2 separate regions of the Homo sapiens genome follow, and region 1 is linked to region 2. The links are contacts of gene promoters, found by promoter capture Hi-C in human tissues and cell types (Jung and others, 2019). All regions are on one chromosome and are shown on one strand. Each heading gives the region's core, a stretch centred on a gene start or on the middle of the fragment in contact. The rest is flanking DNA. Distances are from core to core; before and after follow the strand shown. Region 1 overlaps SELENOI (selenoprotein I). Region 2 holds the start of KCNK3 (potassium two pore domain channel subfamily K member 3).

Region 1 (4,414 bases), core at 909-3,408, 320 kb after region 2:
GAGCAGCAGAGGAACTAGAAAGCAGGGTGGGGGATATTGTAGAAGAGAGAGATGCAGAAGGGTTGAGATTCTAAATCTGAGTATATGCTCTGCCCAGATTCCTGGGTGGATGCTAAACTAAGCAAGCAAATCGGAGACCCCACAGAACATAGTGAAAGAGAAGGCAGAAAGTAGAGGAGATGCTGTGCTTGAAAGACAGAGGTGTTCTTGGTGAGATGTGAGTCTGCTGTATCTCTTACTAAGTGTGTTCCCAACCCACACTCAGACTGGGCTGAAGAAGGCAGAGCCCTTACTGGCTTGAGGGTTGGGGGCAGAACACAATTGCTGGAAGAGCAGCCGAAGATTCAGATGGGGAAACCCCAAAAGCAAAAAAATCATAGAGAGGTGAGCGCCAAAATCTCAGTATCGACTTTGCCCAAATCTTTGGCTGACCACTAAACTACACAGACACAAAGGAGACCCCCAAGAGACCTGGCTAAAAAAGCAGCAGCTAAAAGCTGAAAATAACCAAACAGAGACAAGAGCTACTTAATACAATGTGATGGGACAAATTTCTTCATCTGTGTCCAAACAAGTTAAATGCCTATCAGAACAAAAAACCAAAAATCCTCAGAGCAGAACAGATTATAGTCTCCACAAATATAATCTATAATATCCAGTTTTCAACAACAACAAAAAAAAAATTGCTAGGTATGCAAAGAAATAGAAAAAAAAGCAGTCAACAGAAAATGACTCTTAAGTGGGCCCAGATGTTGGACTCAGTAGACAGACTTTAAAGCAGCAATTTTAAATATGTTCAAAGAACTAAAGGAAAATATGATGATAATAATGAACAGAAGAATCTCAACAGAGAAATAGAAAGTTTAAAAACCAAATGGAAATTCTACAGCTGAAAAGTACAATAACTTTTTTTTTTTTGAGACAGGGTCTGACTCTGTTGCCCAGGCTGGAGTACAGTGGCACAATTACAGCTCACTGCAGCCTCGACTTCCTGGGCTCAAGTGATCCTCCTGCCTCAGCCTCCCAAGTAACTGGGACTACAGGCATGCACCACCATATTTGGCTTAATTTTTCTATTTTTTTGTAGAGACGTGATCCCACTATGTTACCCAGGCTGGTCTTGACTTCCTGGCCTCAAGCAATCCTCCCACCTCAGCCTCTCAAAGTGCTGGGACTACAGGTGTGAGCCACCGCACCCAGGGAAAAGTACAATAACTTAAATGAAAGACTTCCTAGATGGGCTCAACAGCATATTGGAGATGGCAGAAGAAAAAAAAAGCAATGAATTTAAAGACAGATGAATAAAAGTTATCCACTACAAAGAATAAAGAGATTAAAGAAAACTTAATAAAGCCATAGAAAATTACTTTTAGGACAGTATCAGGCAAACCTGTGTAACACACATGTAAGTGGGGTCCCAGAAAAGAAGAGAGAGGGGAAGAAAAAATATCTCAAGAAGTGAAACTGTGACTGAAAACTTCACACATTCAGTCAAAAATACTTACAGGTCCAACAGAGTCAACAGCTCAACAAATACCAAGAAAGACAAACACAAAGAAAACCACACCTAGGTACATCACAGTCAAACTTCCGAAAGCCAAAGATAAAAAGAGAACCTTGAAAGCAACAAGAGAAAAATAATACATTACAGAGTGACAATGATATATGAGCTGACTCAGAAACAATGGATGTCAAAAGACATTAAAATGATATATTCAAAATGCCAAAAGAAAAAATTCAGGCAAAATCAATACACTTTCACGTAAGTAAAAAGAGAGAATAAACTGCTACCAGACCTGCACTATAAAAAAACCTAAAGGAAGTCCTTCAAACTTCTGGGAAAGAACACCACATGGTAGGTCAAATATAAGGCAAATATGTCAGTAAGTAAATAAACTGTATATTATAACACAACCCGGGGGCTAAGCAGGGGGCTAAAGAGTACTGGTGCATTTCAAACAAGATTGGCACTGGTATTGAAAATAGTTGAGACTGGGTAATAGTACACAGGGGTTTATTATATAAAAGTAGAAACATTATAAAGAAAATTATGTGCCTATTAGAGTACACACTTAACATTAAAAAATATGTCTCATATACCAGAGGATTCTGTCTTATCTAAATTTAACACTTAAATGTAACATGCAGGAAACCTGCCATGGGACAATCAAAAGGGTCACTACATAATTGGAGAAGAAAAATAGCATTTTTGAGGTAAAGAAAAAACAGTTTATACAGGTATCAAAAATGAACATTTGATAGATTTCAAGATAGTTCCTAAAATATGCACAGTCTAGAGCTACAGAAAAAAGCCCAAACCACTCCTTTTCTGAAAGCCAGTGCCTAATATACCATCTTCTAAACAGTTTCTAAGCCTTACCTAATTCCCATTCCATTACCAAGGTTCACCAAATGGGAAAGGGTTATTTTTTATTTATTCTTTTTTTTTTTTTTTTTTGAGACAGGGTCTCGCTCTGTCACCCAGGCTGGAGTGCAGTGGCACATGCGATCATAGCTCACTGGGCTCCGGTAATCCTCTGACCTCAGCCTCTCAGGTAGCTAGCATTACAGGTGCACGCACCACACCTGATTAACTTTAGTTTTTTCTAGAGACAGGGTTTCACTATGTTGCCCAAGCTGGTCTCAAACCCCTGGGCTCAAGAGATTCTCCCACTTTGGCCTCCCAAAGTGCTGGGATTACAGGCATGAGCCACTGTGTGTGGCCTATTTTTTAGATAAGAGAACAGAATACAGGACATAGCCCACACATATACCTTTTTACTTCTACAAAGGTTCTCAGTGCCACTCCTGGGGCCCCTAAATAACCATCTAGATTTCTCTTTACACTCGTTCCATACCACTAATACCCTCTCCACTCAGTCAATCATCCTACAGATATCCCCTTCAGCTAAAATCAAAACAGAAAGATTACCACCATAAAAAATCTTTAGCAATCAGTGGGTTAAGAAAGAGGATATCTGAGAGGAATAGAAGCTTAATTTTTTGAGTGGATACATTATAAAATAATCTCTACATTTCATCTGTCCTGTATTTCATACAAACTAGTAATTTTCAACTTTGAGATAAATATAAAACCTGTACCAAATGTGGACCCTCCAATACAGCCTAGGTTAATTTGAATAGTCACTTTATCAGGCTTATGTGATCTATTTTGGTATTTCCCTCTGATTAGAAATAGCTGATGCTGAACAAAAAAACCCCAAAAACAGGGAAACCTTATTTTTCTTAATGGTTAGGCTGAAATCCTACAAGGTTGTAGGGTTGTTCTGCTTCCTGGAGGTTTTGTGAGGCAAAGGGTGTTGTTGCTTGTTATAGTCAAATACCGGCTCTTTTGATAACAAAGTGATGGTTAAAACAGGCTTCAACATGGAGCTTCTTACCAATAATCATTGCAGTGAATAGGTCTCTATATAAGAAATTAAACAGGAAAGGTTCATACCAGGCCTCAACTCCCACAACTGCAGTCACTATGTAGACAAAAGAAATAGTCTGGAAGGAAAATGCAGACAAAAGCATACAGAAGCATTAACGCTAGAAAGATCAGGAGTCACCATGCTTTATGCAGCATTAAGTCAAGTCAAACAGTTTTAGTAAAGGCAAGAAGTATGCTTATATTTGGTATGTGGCAAGTCTTCTTACCTTTAAAAATACAATCTTTTGGCTGGACGTGGGGGCTCATGCCTGTAATCCCAGCACTCTGGGAGGCCAAGACGGGCAGATCACCTGAGGTGTCAGGAGTTCCAGACCAGCCTGACCAACATGGAGAAACCCCATCTCTACTAAAAATACAAAATTAGCCAGGCGTGGTGGCGCATGCCTGTAATCCCAGCTACTTGGGAGGCTGAGGCGGAAGAATCGCCTGAACCCAGGAGGCAGAGGTTGCGGTGAGCCGAGATCACACCATTGCACTCCAGCCTGGGCAACAATAGCGAAATTCTGTCTCAAAAAAAAAAAAAAAAAAATACAATCTTTTAGCCAACAATGCTATAAAATAACTAACTTGTAGACAATGCAAGCAACTGGCCATCATTTGGAGCACTTTAACAGCAACTCATAAATTGGTTAAGTTGTAAGATGATCCAAATTTACCCACCCAACCACTTCAACAAACACTCCAACTTCTGATTTCTTTACTGGAGACTTAGGTGCAAATGGGCAAAATGGCAACACAAAAAGCTGGGATTCAAGGCAGGGAGAGTTAATAGCAAGGCCATTAAAGTAAGAAAAAAGAAATCTCTCTACACACTGAAAAGGTGGCAATGAACACAAAAAGCCAACCATTCAATTATATGTGCATATCTTTCTTTCCAAAATCAAGAGTTCAAATGAACATGCAATAACATTAAGAAATGGTTAAATTTTTGGTGTAATACTGGCATTGTGATTGTTTTTT
Region 2 (4,184 bases), core at 802-3,301:
CAGCTACTGAAACCCTGGCAAATAGTAGTGGGGTGTGAGAGTGGAAGAGACTGCAGACCAAATCTGGGCTGGTGTTTTTCAGGAAGCGGGCTCCTCTTTGGGCAGACCTAAGTCTGATCATCCTATCCTAAACTCACAGGACCAGTAGGACCCAGAGGTGCCCCAGCTGGGCCACATCCACTCCCAGGGCCCTTTCCTCCCTCTTCCAAGAGAAGAATCCAGAAACGACACAGCATAGCTCCCCATGGTCCCCAGGGAGCCGTAGATTCTTGGAACAGTGTCCTGCAGTGGATAGACCGCAGGAAGAGTGTCTAGTCCTGCCTTTTACTCCCTCAGCTCCTGTTGACTCCCAGGAAAACAATGCCATCTTCATGGGCTGCGCTAAGTGGCAACGAACCCCTGGGAGTCTGATCAAGGCAGGGAAGGGGACTAGGGAGAGGAGAGGGAACAGTAAAGACAGAGGAAACTGCTTCTGGAGGCATCTCAATGGGCTTTGGGGGAAGGTGGGTTTCATCTCAGAATCCAAGCACGTCGGGGCTGGGGAGGAGCTCTTGAGATCATTTTGGCCACCCCTCCTTGTCTGGAGGTGAGCCTGAGACCCAGACAGGGGAAGGGACTTGCCCAAGGTCATATATCACGGTAGTGATGGAGCTGGGCTGAAATCATAGGGTGTTGGGGACAGGTAAGGTGTTATTCCCGTCTGGACAGTTTTGAATAGCACCACCAAGGGCCTGGCTAGAGATTCCTTTCCTGGGCAACGTTTGTTCTCTCTCTCTCTCTCTGTCTCTCTCTCTGTGTGTGTGTGTGTGTGTGCCCGCCCTGTGTGTACCCTGTGAGTGCCTGTGTGTATCTGTGTGCATGTGTGCCTATGCCTGTGTTGTCTGACAGTCTGGGTGTACGTGTGGCCTCCTACATGGTGATCTGCCCTGGCTTGGAAAGAACTGGGGTTATTCCTGTGAGGTGACTGTTTTGCTGGGACAGCAGAGAAGAAGGCTGACAAGGCCAGATCTGGCTTCCCGCACCAATTCTGCCGCTCTGAGAAAATCACAGGCACTGACTGGTGGCGACCAAACTCCTGGAGCTGAAACACGCAGACACACGTACACTCACAGCCGCCGTTATAGGGTGGCCCCAAGTGCCCCGAAGTGCCGCATTCCGACATCCTCATGCCTCCCCAGAGCCCAGCAGGTGTAGACCTGCTAGGCTGTGGAAGCCGATCCTCAGGGATACGGAGCACTGGCGCTCTCCCGCCGCTCACTCTCAGCGCCCTGTTCAGGGCCTGGCCCGGCCACACCCCTCCTGCCCGAGCCTCCGCCGGTCGTCCCTGCCCCTCTCACACACTTCGGAGTCCCTGGGGGCCTATGCAACATGGCAGGGCCAAGTTAGGGCTGGCCCGGCCGGAGAGTCAGGTCCGGAGCCAGGAATCGACGCCTCCCCGAGTTCCGTCCCCGCGGAGCACACACGCCAGGCTGAACTCGGGTTTCTGCGAGCGCAGGGTTCGGCGCCCAGCCCCTCTCGGGGGAGCCCCCGCCCCCAGCCCCAGCCGGCCCCGGACGACTCCCGGAGCCCCGCGCCCAGCCCTGGGTTCCCGCCCCCCGCCCGGCGAGCCGTTACCGATGGTGGTGATGACGGTGATGGCGAAGTAGAAGGAGCCGGCGAAGCGCCACTGCACGCCGGCCTTGTGCGGCTTGAGGCGCAGCACGACGCGCTCCAGCTCCTCGTAGCCGCCCTGGCTGAGGTTGTAGCGCGCCCGCAGCTCCTGCTGCCGCAGCTCCAGCCGCTGCCGCTCGATCAGCTCGGGCTCCGACTCCAGCGCGTCGAAGACCGCGGCGCCCACCAGCAGGTAGGTGAAGGTGCACACGATGAGCGCCAGCGTGCGCACGTTCTGCCGCTTCATCGTCCCGCCCGGGCCGCCGCCGGCCCCCCGGCGCCCCCGGCCCGCGCCTCGGCCCCGGCCGCCGCTGCTGCTGCCCCGGAGGCGGCCTGGGGCATGGCTGCGCTCGCCGCTCTCCGCGCCGGGCACCCGCTCAGCGCCCGGGGCCGCCGCCGCCGCCGCCGCCGCGGAGCTGTCCCTTCAGCACCACCCACCGCCCTCCTCCGCCCGGCCCCGCGCCCGCCCCCCGCCCCCCGCCCGCAGGCCGCCTCCTCCCGCCAGCCCTCCCGCCCAGCCAAATAAGGACTGGGGAGACGCGCCGAGGAGGGAGGAGGGGGGCTGGCGGAGGGGACGGGAGGGGCGGCCGCGAGAGAGCCCGGGCAGGACAGAGAGAGAGAAAGAGAGAGAGAGCGAGCCCGAGAGACAGAGAAAACTAGACAGCGAAACGCTGATAACTACGGAGAATGGGAGAAAGGCAGTGTAGGACTGAGGGAAGGGGGCTGTGTGACAGAGGAGGAGATAAAATCAGAGGTGCACTCAGACAGAAAAAGAAGAGAGGCGGGCAGAAAAATACAGAGCAAAAGATGGAAACAGAGAGAGCAACAGACTGAGACAGAGAGGCCTGGATTGCTGGAGATAAACTAATGACAGAGAAACAGACAGGAAGGCAAGGAAGGCAGAGCGAGCCCCTCCCCACCCCACCCTCCACCCTCATCACAGCATATTGCAGCCAGGAGGCACTTGGGGCCTCGCTGTCCTGCCCTTATCCTATGGATGAGGAAATGGAGGCCCAGAGAGGTCAAGTGACACGCATGGGCACGCAGTGATTTCGTGACAGCACTGGGACTCAGCCAAGCGTTCCTTCCTCCCAGGCCACACTCCTTCCTCCCTTGGGCCAGACTCTGGCTGTCTTGGAAGCAGGCAGGGCCCAGCTGTGGACCTGGGCACACATGAGCTGACACCCAAGGGAAAGCCCTGTTCTCAGGCAATGTGTGCCTTCCCAGGTCAGCACAGTTCTTGGAACTGGCTGAGAAGGCACAGGCTGGGAGTCTAGGCCTCCTGCTTCGCTCCCAGGGGCTTCTAGGCTGTCCCGACTCCCATGGTTCCTGTCTTGCACCCGTGCACCAGGCTGGGCTTAGGCTGAGTTGCCAGAGATAGCACCTGCCACCACCTTAGGGCATCCCAGCAGAACCGGGATCTAGCTGGAATTGGGCAGGTGGGGCCCAGAGCAGGAGGCTCACTGGCAGACTGCGGGAACTGGGGCAGGAGAGGGGGTCCCTATGCCTCAGTTTCTTCATTTGTCAAACATGGTGGCTATGGTGGTGAGGTGGGAAGGGTAGTGGAAACTCAGGCATTACTGACCCTCTCAGAGCCTTGTTTCCTTATCTTTTCAACGAGGTGTCGTAGCAGATGATCCCACAGGCCTTGCCCAGCTCTAAACAACTCCAGACTTGGATGGGCTGAGTGAGCAGAATGATTGGAATGCAAATCTCAGTGCCAAGAAGGGTTAAAAAGTCCTTCACAGGACCCTGGCATGGGCCAGGCAGAGAGACAGGGAAGAGACACCAAGGCCCCTGACTGAGAGCAGACTCAGGAGGCAGTCAGCCAGAAGCTGGAGCACTGTCTACCCACAGGCTGGGCTGACCTGTCACTGCCGGACACTACACTCCTCCAATGACACCCCAGAAGTGCCACCAACCCCTTCATTCCTTCAACAAGTATTTATTAAGCATCTGTTGTGTGTCAGGGATTCATCATCTCTGGTCCTCACCACAATCCTGAAAGGTAGGTGTGGTCATGCCTATTTTATAGATGGGGAAACTGAGGCTAAAGGCAATGTAGAGAATCAGTAAATTTCACTCAGCTGGGAAGAGGCTTCAGTCTGTCTGCCTCTTAAGCCCATGCTCTTTGCCATGACTCCTTGAGTCTCTCTTTTTTTTTTTTCAATTTGTAAAGTGGAATAGATAATAATATTAGCTCTACCCGCGTCTTGAACCATTTGTTTTGAGAGATCAAAGAAGAACACATGTGTGCAAATCAGATGATATGAGGCTCTCTAATGACTTCAGAGCCCAATGGGAGGGTCCTACATTTATAGCACCATGTTCCCCCTCCCTCTTCAAGGGAAGATCTTTGTTTCTTTGCAGGCACAGAATTTCTGGTCTTGCCCTCTGACCAGCAACTCAGCCTATTGCAGGCTTTTCCCCTTTGCATCTTCTGGCTCCCTGGAAGGAAAGTACTGCCTTTCCCAGCTTCTCAGAGGTGAAGGTACAAGTTAGGTTCTGTGCATTTCTGATGTATTGGCTCCTGG

What was found. The method cuts DNA at HindIII sites, captures the fragments that hold promoters and counts their contacts. A contact is called where the count stands out against the background at its distance.
Region 1: a contact is called between a fragment that was not itself captured here and the fragment with the promoter of KCNK3 in region 2, in 1 of the 25 tissues and cell types used here (mesenchymal stem cells).

What each region holds. Positions count from the first base shown.
Region 1 is chr2:26,374,136-26,378,549 of GRCh38, reverse strand. It overlaps SELENOI (selenoprotein I), which reads right to left. Exons shown (of 10, transcript NM_033505.4): 6 at 3,402-3,510. Among named protein-coding and RNA genes, the nearest start is that of DRC1, 26 kb to the left of the region's middle. The HindIII fragment of the contact is 4,975 bases long and covers 1-4,414 here.
Region 2 is chr2:26,690,589-26,694,772 of GRCh38, reverse strand. KCNK3 (potassium two pore domain channel subfamily K member 3) reads right to left here and starts at 2,051. Exons shown (of 2, transcript NM_002246.3): 1 at 1,615-2,051. The coding sequence starts at 1,897. The HindIII fragment of the contact is 34,558 bases long and covers 1-4,184 here.